Linked DNA regions of Homo sapiens: region 2 is linked to region 1. The links are contacts of gene promoters, found by promoter capture Hi-C in blood cells and fetal thymus (Javierre and others, 2016). All regions are on one chromosome and are shown on one strand. Each heading gives the region's core, a stretch centred on a gene start or on the middle of the fragment in contact. The rest is flanking DNA. Distances are from core to core; before and after follow the strand shown.

Evidence for each region. Contacts are between HindIII fragments. The CHiCAGO score rates a contact against its expected background, and 5 or more counts as called.
Region 2: a contact is called between the fragment with the promoter of AURKAIP1 here and a fragment that was not itself captured in region 1, in 2 of 17 cell types (endothelial precursors and megakaryocytes). The highest score is 5.3, in endothelial precursors.

The regions. Positions count from the first base shown.
Region 1 is chr1:1,546,307-1,549,994 of GRCh38, forward strand. All of the region lies in intron 2 of SSU72 (SSU72 homolog, RNA polymerase II CTD phosphatase), which reads right to left. Among named protein-coding and RNA genes, the nearest start is that of TMEM240, 7.5 kb to the left of the region's middle. The HindIII fragment of the contact is 2,228 bases long and covers 638-2,865 here.
Region 2 is chr1:1,372,802-1,376,552 of GRCh38, forward strand. AURKAIP1 (aurora kinase A interacting protein 1) reads right to left here and starts at 2,406. Exons shown (of 4, transcript NM_017900.3): 1 at 2,353-2,406; 2 at 1,904-1,989; 3 at 1,199-1,644; 4 at 935-1,101. The coding sequence starts at 1,955. The coding sequence ends at 1,000. RefSeq lists silencers at 2,147-2,196, 2,217-2,396 and an enhancer at 2,192-3,097. The HindIII fragment of the contact is 3,347 bases long and covers 1,788-3,751 here.

The sequences.
Region 1 (3,688 bases), core at 502-3,001:
CATCTGACCCTGAGCTGCATCCTTGGGTCACTGTCAGCAGCGTGGAAGTCACACACCCACCCCTGACGTGTGTCTCCTCCTGCACATTGGAGTCCCGCCTGTGTCCCCGAGGCCCCTGGAAGCAGCTATGACACCCGGGTCCATCTCTGGGGAACTTAGTCCTTCAGCCGCTGAGAATCAAAGTCTGCGGAAAGAAGAGCTCGAGGCCGGGTGCGGCGGCTCACGCCTGTCATCCCAGCATTCTAGGAGGCCGGGCGTGGCGACTCACACCTGTCATCCCAGCACATCGAGAGGCCGAGGCGGGTGGATCACCTGAGGTCAGGTGTTTGAGACCAGCCTGGCCAAGATGGTGAAACCCCGTCTCTACTAAAAATACAAAAGTTAGCCAGGTGGGGCGGCACACACCTGTAATCTCAGCTACAGCTACTCAGGAGGCTGAGGCACGAGAGTTGCTTCAACCCGGGCGGCGGAGGTTGCAGTGAGCCGAGATCACACCACGGCACTTCGGCCTGGGCGACAGAGTAAAACTCCTTCTGGAAAACAACAACAACAACAAAAAAAAAAAAAAAAAAAAAAAAGGCCGGGCGCGGTGGCTCACACCTGTAATCCCAGCTACTCGGGAGGCTGAGGCAGGAGAAGCTTGAACCTGGGAGGCGGAGCTTGCAGTGAGCTGAGATCGTGACACTGCACTCCAGCCTGGGCAACAAGAGCAAGACACCGTCTCAAAAAGAAAAGAAAAAAAAGAGCTCAAGACGGCCTGACCTTGTTGTGTGCAGCCACATGCAGAGGGGCAGGTGCAGGGACCGGCTCACGGAGAGGAACCGGGGTCAGGGTGCAGGGGTCCAGTGGCAGCTTCATGGTGGGCACAGGGATCACCCTCCCTGCACATCCCTGAGCAAGACACAGCCGGGGGTGAGGCCGTGGGGGCTCCTGGGGATGGGACTGGTGTCACTGGCTGGCAGAGCTCATGGACGTTCAAGGCCAGCTCTTCCCTGAGGCCTGGACAGTTCTAAGTCCTTTCCTCCTTTACGTCATTCTCAACTATTTATGTAGATGAGGCAATAAATTAAGAATCATTCAGTTAAGGAGAAATGTCTACTTCAGGGACAAAGCAGCAGCCTCCTCAGCTACACAAGGATGAGCGAGCAGCCACCCTTCTGGATCTCCTGGCGAGGAGATGCGAGGTGAGGCCCCGCCCAGAGGGCTAGACCTGCAAGCCCCACCAGAGGCTGTGAGGACCTGAGGAGGACCAAAGGGACCACAGACCAAGCCATGAGCTCACAGGGACGCAAGATCCCACCTGAATTCCGGCAGCAAAACCACGGTGCCAGTGAGTGCCACGAGGCAAAGGCTCAGAGCAAGGCGAGAGGACAGGAGCCGCTGGCGGGTGAGGCGGGGCCTTCAATAGACAGGCTCAGGGCCACGGGGAGGCTGAGCAGGTTTCGGGCCTGCGTGCGAGAGCCTGCTCTTCAAGTCATGGGGAAATCCTTTCTGAAGGAAGAACCTAAGTACTGCCGGGCGGGAGGAAGGGGAGAGAGGCGCCATCGGAACAGAAACCTGTCCCATCTTCCGGACACCTGCGCCGCCCAGGTCCTGCAGAAGTCCCACTGACGCAAAGCGTTCGACATTGAACCCACAAAGAAAGAAACCAAAGACTCAGCCCGGGCAAGAAGGCGACACCAGGCGGAGGGCCTGACCCATGCTAGGGCCCCAACTGGGCATGAGGGCCTGAAACGTACCCAGAAAAGTGGGCCAAGAGAGGGCCCAGGGCAGGGCAGGCAAAGAGGATGTGCCATCCATAGAATCGACTGCCCCCATTGGACTCCCAGGGCCTGGACATCCGGCTTTGCACAGTCCCTGCGGCCTCAGGGACCACGTTCAGTAGAGGGCGGCCAACACCCGAAGGCCATGAAACAGAGGCACACAGGAGCCTCAGCTGAAGTTAACACACATCTAAGAAATAAACTCCCAGCTGGGCGCGGTGGCTCACACCTGTAATCCCAGCACTTTGGGAGGCTGAGACAGGCGGATCACAAGGTCAGGAGTTTGAGACCAGCCTGGCCAATATGGTGAAACTCATCTATACCAAATTACAAAAATTAGCCAGGCGTCGTGGCAGGCGCCTTAGTCCCAGCTACTCTGGAGGCTGAGGCAGGAGAATTGCTTGAAGCCAGGAGGCGGAGGCTGCACTGAGCTGAGATCATGCCACTGCACTCTGGCCTCGGTGACAGGAGCAAGACTCTGTCTCAAAAAAAAAAAAAAAAAAAAAACTCCCAAGGATGGGCCAAGAAAATTGTCCAGAGGTGAGATGTGGCAGCCACGGGGTGGGGTGCTGGGGGTGGGTGCAGTGGGCAGGCCCCTCCCCTGCCCTGGCTTCCACATGGACCGCGGTGAGGAAGGTAGCTCCGCTCACCCACTCTGCGTCCTCCCACTCGCCCCCGGAGGCCTTCTGGACTTTGGCGTAAACAGGAGGAGCAGGCCCATCAGACCCTTGAGTGAGATTCCCATGGGTTGAGCACGTGTGGCCAATCCCGAGAGGCCACCGGCCAGCATGAGCCAATGTCCTGGCCCTCCCTGCCCTGTTGGTGTCACTCCCGTCCCACAGTGACGTCTGGAACCCTCCCCCGGTGTGTGGCTGCATGGCCTCCTGAGTCTGGGGATGGGAGAATAAGGCTTGTGCTGGAGGCCTTGGGCTGTGACACATACCTGTGGTCCCAGCTACTCGGGAGGCCGAGGCAGGAGGATGCCTTGAATCCAGGAGGGACCCAGAGAGATCTGGAATATTGTCTCATGCAACAGAAAGTGTCATCAACACAGAATCACGTTAAAATTCTGTGGGGGACTAACCATCAGAGAAACAAACTAAGCTTTCTGTCCACACAGAGCAACAAAGAAACCCTGCCTCTACAAAAAATAAAAAATTACCAGCCTGGGGCCGGGCACGGTGGCTCACGCCTGTAATCCCAGAACTTTGCGAGGCCGAGGCAGGTGGATCACAAGATCAGGAAATCGAGACCATCCTGGCTACCACAGGGAAACCCTGTCTCTACTAAAAACACAAAAAATTAGCCAGGCGTGGTGGCAGGCGCCTGTAGTCCCGGCTACTCAGGAGGCTGAGGCGGGAGAATGGCGTGAACCCGGAGGCGGAGCTTGCAGTGAGCAAGATCGCACCACCGCACTCCAGCCTGGGGGACAGAGCGAGACTCTGTCTCAAAAAAAAAAAAGAAAGAAAAAGAAAAAAAAAGGCTGCAGCCAGGCATGGTGGCTCACACCTATAATCCCACCACTTTGGGAGGCCGAGGCGGATGGCTTATCTGAGGTCAGGAGTTCGAGACCAGCCTGACCAATATGGCAAAACCCTGACTCTACTAAAGTACAAAAATTATGGCTGGGCGCAGTGGCTCACGCCTGTAATCCCAGCACTTTGGGAGGCCGAGGCGGGTGGATCACAAGGTCAGGAGATCGAGACCATCCTGGCTAACATGGTGAAACCCCATCTTTACTAAAAATATAAAAAATTAGCCGGGCATGGTGGCGGGTGCCTGTAATCCCACTGCTCAGGAGGCTGGGGCAGGAGAATAGCTTGAACCCAGGAGGTGGAGGTTGCAGTGAGCCGAGATTGCGCCTCTATACTCCAGCCTGGGTGACAAGAGCGAGACTCTGTCTCAAAAAAAAAAAAAAAAGATGG
Region 2 (3,751 bases), core at 1,156-3,655, 170 kb before region 1:
TCCTGGCCAACATGGTGAAACCCTGTCTCTAACAAAAATACAAAAATTAGCCGGGCTTGGTGGCGGGCACCTGTAATCCCAGCTATTCAGGAGGCTGAGGCAGGAGAGTCACTGGAACCTGGGAGGGAGAGGCTGCAGTGAGCTGAGATCGCACCACTGCACTCCAGCCTGGGTGATGGAATGAGACTCTTCCTCAAAAAAAAAGGGGGGGGGAATAATGCGTTCCTCCTCTTCACCCAGAGGAACGTGGAGACACCAGGGGCCTCTGGCTCAACCTAAGCCTCAGGGATTCTTCGGCCCTGTAAACGAGACCCTTTCCTCAGCCACCCCCCAGCCCCGAACCCCTTCTGGGACAACTCTTCCTGCTTAGTCCCCACGTCCACTCAGGGCCCCAGGAGATGGCAGACATGCCTGGGAAGGCCAACACCCTGGCCCTGTAGCCGGAAAGCTTGGAGGGCCACTGGAGGATCACGTCCACGGAGCCTGGCGGGCACCATCCACCACTGCCAGTGGTACCAGAACCTTTCCTGCCTTCCCAATGAGGCCCTCCCCGACCCTCCACTCATGAAATACACCTGAATCACCCCGTGCATTCCGGGTGCTCCCTAAACCCCAGTCCTGTCCCCCTGTACTTCTGCCATCCGGGTCGGCCTCCCCAGGGAATGTGGTGCTCAGGGAGGGGCTGTGGGATCTGTTCACAGTGATCCCACAGCACCTAGCCTGAACTGCACACAGCACACATTTGCTCACAGCGAGGCTGGGGCTCCTACAGGCCCAGCACCCTCTGGACGGCGGCCAAGAGCCAGCTAGAGAGAGGGACGGCCAATCTGCCACCCTGCTGCCCGGGTCTTCTGCAACACCTGGGACTGGCAGCAGCCTCAATCCTGAGAGACCTCACACCCGGCAAATGGAGCTCCAGACCCGCAGGAAAGGCTGAGTCCTCTGAGAATTTATTACTACGGATCACAGCAGCAACGGGCGGGAAGGGCGGCGCCAGACTCATTTGCCCCGCAGGTAGATCTTGGGGGTCTGCCAGCCTTCGGGGGCTTCCTTTAGCCCCGCCTTCAGCCAGATGCGCCTCAGGTCTTTCTCGAACTTGATCTGCAAGACGCAGAGAGAGGGACCGCCAAGTAATTCGTGGCAAAGAAACGTGTTCTCAGCACTTTGCCCTCCCAGGGCCAAGCAGGGGGCCACTCACCTGCTTGCGTCTCAGGCGTCCCTCCTGGACCTTCCTCCGCAGGAACCGCGTCTTCTTCACCAGCTTCCGGTACTTGTGGTGGTTCATCTTCCGCCGGCGGATCTTCAGCACGTTTTTGCACTGAATTTGAGGCGCATCCGCGACGCCTTCATCCCCCTGCTCGGCCCCTTCCCCTATCTGGCTGGGCGGACACTGGTAGGATTGCGGTGGAGCCACAGTCCCTGCGGTCCCGGTATCCAGTCTGGGCAGGAAGCAGCGGGCCGTGAGCCAGCTCTCCAGGGGGCTGACGGACATCTTCCTGGGGACCAGCATCTCCTCCAGCTCCAGCTGGGCCCCCTTGCGAGGGAGAGAGGCCGCCCTACCTGGGCCGGCCGGCGATGTGCTGTAAAGGGGCCCGCAGACCCGGCTGCCCAGCACTCCAGAGACGGGCCAAGGCGGGCGGCCGCCTGCAGAAAACCAGACGCCACGGTCACCGCTCGCGAGACCACACAGGCCCGTCGGGTTGAGGAGCAGCAGGTTCGTCCCAGCGAGGATCCCCCGCACCTCATTCCTGGCCTGAACCCCTGAGGTTCCCTCTGTGAGCATCGGAAGCTTAGAGGGGAAAGAGTGTGTGTGTGGCCACCGGCCCTGCCCCAGCGGAGCTGCTGAGACCCGCACTCCTAACCAGGTGTGCATCCTCCCATCCGCCCCCGCGCGGCTTCCTACCTGCCCAAGGAACGGCCCTCAACAGCTGGGAAGTCAGGCGCCCCAGGAGCATGGTCTGTGGGCGGCGGCCACAGGTCCCAGGGGAGCTGGAACACAAGTGCCCGTTCAGGTCAGGCGGCAGCGCCTTCAGTAGTCGCGGGCGGGCCGGGACTGGGGCGTCTGGTCCCGCCGCGACCCTCGCTTCCCTTCTCCCTCCGCCACCCCAACCCACAAGGAGGACTTTGCTTCCAACACAGCTCGCGCCCCGAGGCTCCCAAGCCCCCGACGCGGGCGGTGTCGCGCTCGGACGCACCGAAAGGTCCCAGAACGGGGAGGCCGGCCCCCTCCCCGGGTTCACCCCCGCGCGAATCGCGTTGCCTGGCGCCCGGACCCTCTCGGCTGGACCCCGGGCCCGCCTGCCGCAGCGCCCGGCGCCCTCAGGCCTCCCGCTGACCCTTCCCAAGCCCGACCTCGACGCGGCTCAAATTGACCGTTCTGCGGCCGCCCTCGGGCACTTCCGGTCCGTCCCCAAGTCGGCCCCGATCGGCAGCGGCCACCCGGCGGTTCCTACGCACAGCGCCCGCTGGCGTCCTCGCGGCCCCCGATTCTGCATTGGCTCAGGCCCCGCCGGGCCCGAAAGGCGACGGTTTCCGGTTAGTGGAATCACGGTCCCAGTCCTCGCGCGGTTCCTCAGCTCCGCCTGGTCCCTTACGGAGGCAAAAAACTACATTTCCCACAATCCCAGGGGGTGCGGGCCCTGGATATACCCGCAGGTCCAGAATCGTTTCCGGACCACCCAGGGGCCGGATTCCCAACGGGCCGACGGAAGTGCGGGCTCAAGACTACGGAAGTGACGTATCTGGCAACGGAAGTGGAGTTACGTGGAAGGCGGAAGCGTCTAGAGCTATTTCCCCCGTTTTTGCTAGAGACCAAGGACCCGGAATAAGCACTGAGCCTGCGGTACCGGGCCTCCCCGACTCCTCATTCCTGGGGTTAAAAAAAAAAAAATAAGACGCAGGCTGGGCGCGGTGGCTCAGGCCTGTAATCCCAGCACTTTGGGAGGCCGAGGCTGGTGGATCACCTGAGGTCAGGAGTTCGAGACCAGCATGGCCAACATGGTGAAACCCCGTCTCTACTAAAACTACAAAAATTAGCCTAGCGTGGTGGCAGGCGCCTGTAATCCCAGCTACTCGGGAGGCTGAGGCAAGAGAATCGCTTGCGCCCAGGAGGCAGAGGTTGCGGTGAGCCGAGATCGCACCACTGCACTCCAGTCTGGGTGACATAGATCCTGTCTCAAAAAAATAAATAAATAAATAAAATAAAAATCAGACTCACACTTTTTGTCTGAGAACTAAAAGCAGCCTCTCTGGTGGATTGGGTTTGGCTGAGCCCCTAATGATGCTCCCCAGAGTAGGCGCTGCCAACGTGTAGCTTCACCTTTCTACTCCAGACAGGCCCCTTTGACCTCCGTGAGGTTGGCTAATATAGAGACCCCAGCATGGACTTGCAGGGGCGCCTGGTGGGAGAGGGGTGTGGAGCAGAGCCTGCTGGGCCTGCTCGGAGACTTGCCTTGCAGGAGGGTCTTCCAGGGACGCTTAGCAGGAAGTGGAAAGGCCAGGTCATCTGCCGGGCCCAGCCTGGCTAAGCAGTGAGTGACAGGTAGGATAGGCCAGTGTGAGGACATAAAGTTCAGGCTCCAGGCCCACCTCTACAACTGAGGTCCCCAGATGACTCTACGTTACCCCTCAGAGGGGCTACTTGGGACTCCAAGCAGGAAGGTTTACGAACGTTATTTGCGGGCCCGCCCTTCACCCCTGCTGCACAGCTTCCCCTAGTGGATTTGGCCGTAAATGAGCAGACTGGTGCCTC